Regions from separate parts of the Homo sapiens genome. Here region 2 is linked to region 1. The links are contacts of gene promoters, found by promoter capture Hi-C in blood cells and fetal thymus (Javierre and others, 2016). All regions are on one chromosome and are shown on one strand. Each heading gives the region's core, a stretch centred on a gene start or on the middle of the fragment in contact. The rest is flanking DNA. Distances are from core to core; before and after follow the strand shown.

Region 1 (2,889 bases), core at 1-2,500:
GCCAGTCAGGCTGGGCCTCAGAGAGCTGAGTAGGAAGGAGGGCCGCAGCTGCTCCTTGTCGCCTGAGGAGTAGAGGAAGTGCTTGGTCTCGGCGTACACCGGGGGACAAGGCGTGTCCCAGGGACGTGGTGGCCGCGATGTGGATGGGGGGCCCGCGTGGTGCTGGCGGCCCACGGATGGGTGGGAGTGGCGCGTGCCAGAGAGCGCACCCTCCAAAGAGGTGGCTTCTTCGGCGGGTCTGGCAGGTGACACCACACAGAAACCACGGTCACTCGGTCCACGCGTCCTGCCCGGGTGGGCCCAGGACCCCTGCCCAACGGGCGTCCGCTCCGGCTCAGGGGCAGCGCCACGCCTGGGCCTCTTGGGCAACGGCAGACTTCGGCTGGCACTGCCCCCGCGCCTCCTCGCACCCGGGGCTGGCAGGCCCAGGGGGACCCCGGCCTCCCTGACGCTATGGTTCCAGGCCCGTTCGCATCCCAGACGCCTTCGGGGTCCACTAGCGTGTGGCGGGGGCCGGGCCTGAGTGGCAGCGCCGAGCTGGTACAGCGGCGGCCCGCACACCTGGTAGGCGCAGCTGGGAGCCACCAGCACAAAGAGCGCGCAGCGTGCCAGCAGGTGAACCAGCACGTCGTCGCCCACGCGGCGCAGCAGCAGCCCCCACGCCCCGCTCCCCCGCAGTGCGTCGGTCACCGTGTTGGGCAGGTAGCTGCGCACGCTGGTGGTGAAGGCCTCGGGGGGGCCCCCGCGGGCCCCGTCCAGCAGCGCGAAGCCGAAGGCCAGCACGTTCTTCGCGCCGCGCTCGCACAGCCTCTGCAGCACTCGGGCCACCAGCTCCTTCAGGCAGGACACCTGCGGGGGAAGCGCCCTGAGTCGCCTGCGCTGCTCTCCGCATGTCGCTGGTTCCCCCCGGCCGCCCTCAACCCCAGCCGGACGCCGACCCCGGGGAGGCCCACCTGGCGGAAGGAGGGGGCGGCGGGGGGCGGCCGTGCGTCCCAGGGCACGCACACCAGGCACTGGGCCACCAGCGCGCGGAAAGCCGCCGGGTCCCCGCGCTGCACCAGCCGCCAGCCCTGGGGCCCCAGGCGCCGCACGAACGTGGCCAGCGGCAGCACCTCGCGGTAGTGGCTGCGCAGCAGGGAGCGCACGGCTCGGCAGCGGGGAGCGCGCGGCATCGCGGGGGTGGCCGGGGCCAGGGCTTCCCACGTGCGCAGCAGGACGCAGCGCTGCCTGAAACTCGCGCCGCGAGGAGAGGGCGGGGCCGCGGAAAGGAAGGGGAGGGGCTGGGAGGGCCCGGAGGGGGCTGGGCCGGGGACCCGGGAGGGGTCGGGACGGGGCGGGGTCCGCGCGGAGGAGGCGGAGCTGGAAGGTGAAGGGGCAGGACGGGTGCCCGGGTCCCCAGTCCCTCCGCCACGTGGGAAGCGCGGTCCTGGGCGTCTGTGCCCGCGAATCCACTGGGAGCCCGGCCTGGCCCCGACAGCGCAGCTGCTCCGGGCGGACCCGGGGGTCTGGGCCGCGCTTCCCCGCCCGCGCGCCGCTCGCGCTCCCAGGGTGCAGGGACGCCAGCGAGGGCCCCAGCGGAGAGAGGTCGAATCGGCCTAGGCTGTGGGGTAACCCGAGGGAGGGGCCATGATGTGGAGGCCCTGGGAACAGGTGCGTGCGGCGACCCTTTGGCCGCTGGCCTGATCCGGAGACCCAGGGCTGCCTCCAGGTCCGGACGCGGGGCGTCGGGCTCCGGGCACCACGAATGCCGGACGTGAAGGGGAGGACGGAGGCGCGTAGACGCGGCTGGGGACGAACCCGAGGACGCATTGCTCCCTGGACGGGCACGCGGGACCTCCCGGAGTGCCTCCCTGCAACACTTCCCCGCGACTTGGGCTCCTTGACACAGGCCCGTCATTTCTCTTTGCAGGTTCTCAGGCGGCGAGGGGTCCCCACCATGAGCAAACCACCCCAAATCTGTTAATCACCCACCGGGGCGGTCCCGTCGAGAAAGGGTGGGAAATGGAGCCAGGCGCTCCTGCTGGCCGCGCACCGGGCGCCTCACACCAGCCACAACGGCCTTGACCCTGGGCCCCGGCACTCTGTCTGGCAGATGAGGCCAACATCTGGTCACATCCCGCCCGCACAGGGTGGAGGGCAACCTCGGGGTCCAGGCACCTGGCTCCAAGCCTCGGACTGCAGAGCTAGGAGGCCCGACTTCCAGCCCAGCAGTAGAAGCCACACGGCCACTGGTCCCCTCCAGACCTGGGGCCCCGGCACAACCGCAGGACAGCTGAGGACTTCCCAGGAATCCAGACTCCGGGTTGCTCAAGTTTGGATCTAAGGGGCGAGAAACTTCTGGGTCTCCCGAGGCCTTGCAGGGATGCTGTAGCTGAGGTCGGCAAACACTGAAATGCTAACAAACGCAACCTTAAATGTAACCTTTCCTACTTTCAGAAACTGCCGGAGGAAATTGCTTTATTTATGGAGCTAGCATTTGAACAGGCCTCGCACCCTCCCTGGGCTGTCACGCTCGCTGGAGGTTAGCCTCGTCTTGTAAATACTTAGGATTACAGGTCGCTCTTCTAGAAATCCCCTTAGTGATCCCTAAGCCTTTTTAAAGGGCTGTGTTTGTGAATTGTCTCTGCCACTAGGGCAAAGGGGCGGTTTGGAAAATTTGTTCCAACAAAAGTTAAGTTGTAGCTTACACTGGTTCTCTGCAGAGAAGCCAACATAGAAAACACAATTTTAAAAGAGGGAAGAGAAGAAATGGAAGCAGAAGATTATGCTGGAGTAATTAACACCATGTGCATGGCGAGGAAACGCCTCCCGGCATTCAATGAAGATCGCTGATACCCAGAAGACACCCCAGTATTATGGGTGCAGTTAGTGTGTCTTTGAAAAGCTGAT
Region 2 (2,889 bases), core at 243-2,742, 230 kb after region 1:
TTGACTAAGAGAAGTTGGTCTTGGGTGGGGAGGTATAAGCAGTTTTCTCTGTCTAGCAGGGGAAACATGAGTTTCTCATTAGGACTTAGTTTTGGGAAAACCACCCTAAGGGCCCTTTAGCTACAAAGGGAGCCCCCACTGTGGTTCTCAGGAACCTCCTGGAAGCCCCCCACAGCTCCCTGGGGCTGGTAACCACACCCCTGAGGCTTCTTGCTCTGGTTTTGTCTCTGTTTTAAGAGTGTAAGCTCACAGAGAAGTGTTTCCTATACTCCAAGTGCATTGAGAACACAAGGTACCTGCTTGTTCTGGTAAGGCTGAGTATTTTTGTTTTGTTTGTTTAATTTTTGAATTTTAGAGTTATCTATAGGATAGAAAAAGATATTCTCCTTCATTTTCTACTAACATCTTTTTTCAGTTCTGCCTTTCATGGTTGCATTTTATTCTATTTGAAGATTTTTTTCTCTGCATGGAGACCTGATATTCTCAACACCACGTATCAATCACAGACTCCCACTTGTGGGTCCACTTCCAGCATGAACAGAAAGAAGGGTTCCTGAAGCTCCTTCTGGCTGCCCCATCTCACCCATTGGTCCGTGTACTCCTTTACTCCCGTCTCACCCGCCGGTCCGCGTACTCCTTTACTCCTGTCTCACACCTTTCAACCGTCTGCCTTAGTAACTGTAGAGGGGGTTCCTTCCTGTTGGCGCTTCTTCCCAAGAATTGTAGTAGGAATTCAGGGAATTTTATTTTTCCATCCAAATTTTGGAAGCAGTTGTCCCCATTGCTAAAAATTCCCGCTGGAAGCTTCCTTTTGAATCACATTAATTGTACAGGGTACTTCAGTAAGAATGTTACTTCATTCTTACTGTTCATTCTCCCTGTTCCCTAAGAATGTTACTTCAGTAAGAGCTGGCTGGTCCTGGGAGGGGCCCTCGAAGGGCCAGCAAGGCTCCAAGGCTCCAAGGCTTCAAAGCACTAGAAAATACAAAAAAAAAATTTTTTAAATGGATGATGTGGCATGGACACTTTATAATTTTGAGAACGATTTTTCACCAACATGGTTATTCTACCATTTATTTAGATGTTCTTTCATGCCCTTTGATAGCATTTTAAATTTTTCTACATAAAGATTCTGTATTTTTGTTAATTCCTTGATGCTTCATACTTCTGCAGTGATGTAATAATCGTTTCAAAAATTACTCTTGGGCCGGGCGCGGTGGCTCATGCCTGTAATCTCAGCACTTTGGGACGCCGAGGTGGGCGGATCATCTGAGGTCAGGAGTTCGAGACCAGCCTGGCCAACATGGCAAAACCCCATCTCTACTAAAAATATGACAATTAGCCAGGTGTGGTGGCACACGCCTGTAGTCCCAGCTACCCGGGAGGCTGAGGCAGGAGGATTGCTTGAACCTGGGAGACAGAGGTTGCAGTGAGCCAAGATCACGCCACTGTACTCCAGCCTGGGCAAGAACAGAGCGAGACTCTCTTTCAAAAAAAAAAATTACTCTTGACAGTATGGATTATATGGAGAACCACTACTGCTTGTGTAGAGGTTGTATGAAGACAGACCCCAGGGTACAAGAGGACCTGTGGATGTTCCAGATGAGGAGTGCACAGCCCCAGAGTGAGGGACTCCATCATGTACAATGGATGGACTTCCTATTCAACCCACAATCATGACAAACAGAAAATTGTGGTGGTTTTCAGTCACTACAGACTGAGATGGTTTGTTAAGCAGTGATAGTGTCTTTCAAAGAGCAGATATTTTAAATTTTGATGAAGTCCAATTTATCAGCGTTTTCTTTTAGGGATCATGGTTTTGGTATCCTCTTTTATAAATATTTACCTGCATCAAGGTCATTCAGATTTTCTTACTTCAGAAGTTTTACAGTTTTGGCTTTACCATTTAGGTCTGTATTCCATTTCAAGTTGACATTTGTACACGGCATAAAGTAAAGTGGAGGCAGAGGTTTTTTAGTTTCAAATGTTTTCGTCTGAATATTCAACTGTTTCGGCACCATTTGTTGAAGAGAATATTCTTTCTCCATTGAACTACCTTGACAACTTTGTAAAAAAATTAAGTGGCCATATATGTATAGTTGAGTCTATTCCTGGACTCTGTATTTTGTTCCATGGATCTGTACATCTGCAACTGCCAACATCACACTATACTGATTACTAAAGCTTTATATTAGTCTTGAAATTAGACTGCACTGCACTGGAGTGCAGTGGCCCGATCTCGGCTCACTGCAGACTCCGCCTCCTGAGTTCAAGCGATTCTCCTGTCTCAGCCTTCGGAGTAGCTGGGACTACAGGCATGCACCAGCACGCCCAGCTAATTTTTATATTTTTTAGTAGAGACGGGGTTTCACCATGTTGGCCAGGCTGGTCTCGAACTCCTGACCTCAGGTAATCTGCCCGCCTTGGCCTCCCAAAGTGCTGGGATGACAGGTGTGAGCCACCATGCCCAGCCAAAATTTTAGAATCATTTTGTCAAGAAACTGAAGTATCCAGGAACAAACAAACAAAAGGTTGGTGGGATTTTTAATGAGATTGTGTTGAATCTATTGATCAATTTGGGAAAATTGCCATCTTAGCAATATTGAGTTATCCATCCATGAGCATGGTATACAGATCATTTATTTAGGTTTTCTTTAATTTCCCTCAGCAATGTTTTATAATTTTCACTGCATAGGTCTTACATAGGTTTTCGAATTCTGTTCCTATTTCATGTTTTGATGCTGTTATAAATGATACTGCTTCTTAATTTCAATTTCCAGAAGTGTGTTGCTCGTATATAGAACTACAACTGATTTTATGTATTTACTTTGTAGGCATTAACCTTGCTAAATTCATTTATTAGTTCTAGTGACTTTTTTTGTAGATTCT

What was found. Contacts are between HindIII fragments. The CHiCAGO score rates a contact against its expected background, and 5 or more counts as called.
Region 2: a fragment that was not itself captured here is called in contact with the fragment with the promoter of TERT in region 1 in 1 of 17 cell types (naive CD4 T cells); the score reaches 5.6 in naive CD4 T cells.

The regions. Positions count from the first base shown.
Region 1 is chr5:1,293,818-1,296,706 of GRCh38, forward strand. It overlaps TERT (telomerase reverse transcriptase), which reads right to left and starts at 1,251. Exons shown (of 16, transcript NM_198253.3): 1 at 954-1,251; 2 at 1-849. The coding sequence starts at 1,172. RefSeq lists promoters at 811-2,889, 811-1,502, cis regulatory regions at 816-1,172, 1,175-1,207, 1,277-1,285, 1,297-1,305, enhancers at 1,199-1,241, 1,212-1,928 and silencers at 1,338-1,407, 1,508-1,597. The HindIII fragment of the contact is 13,041 bases long and covers 1-2,889 here.
Region 2 is chr5:1,527,116-1,530,004 of GRCh38, forward strand. No RefSeq gene overlaps it. Among named protein-coding and RNA genes, the nearest start is that of LPCAT1, 4.6 kb to the left of the region's middle. The HindIII fragment of the contact is 1,380 bases long and covers 803-2,182 here.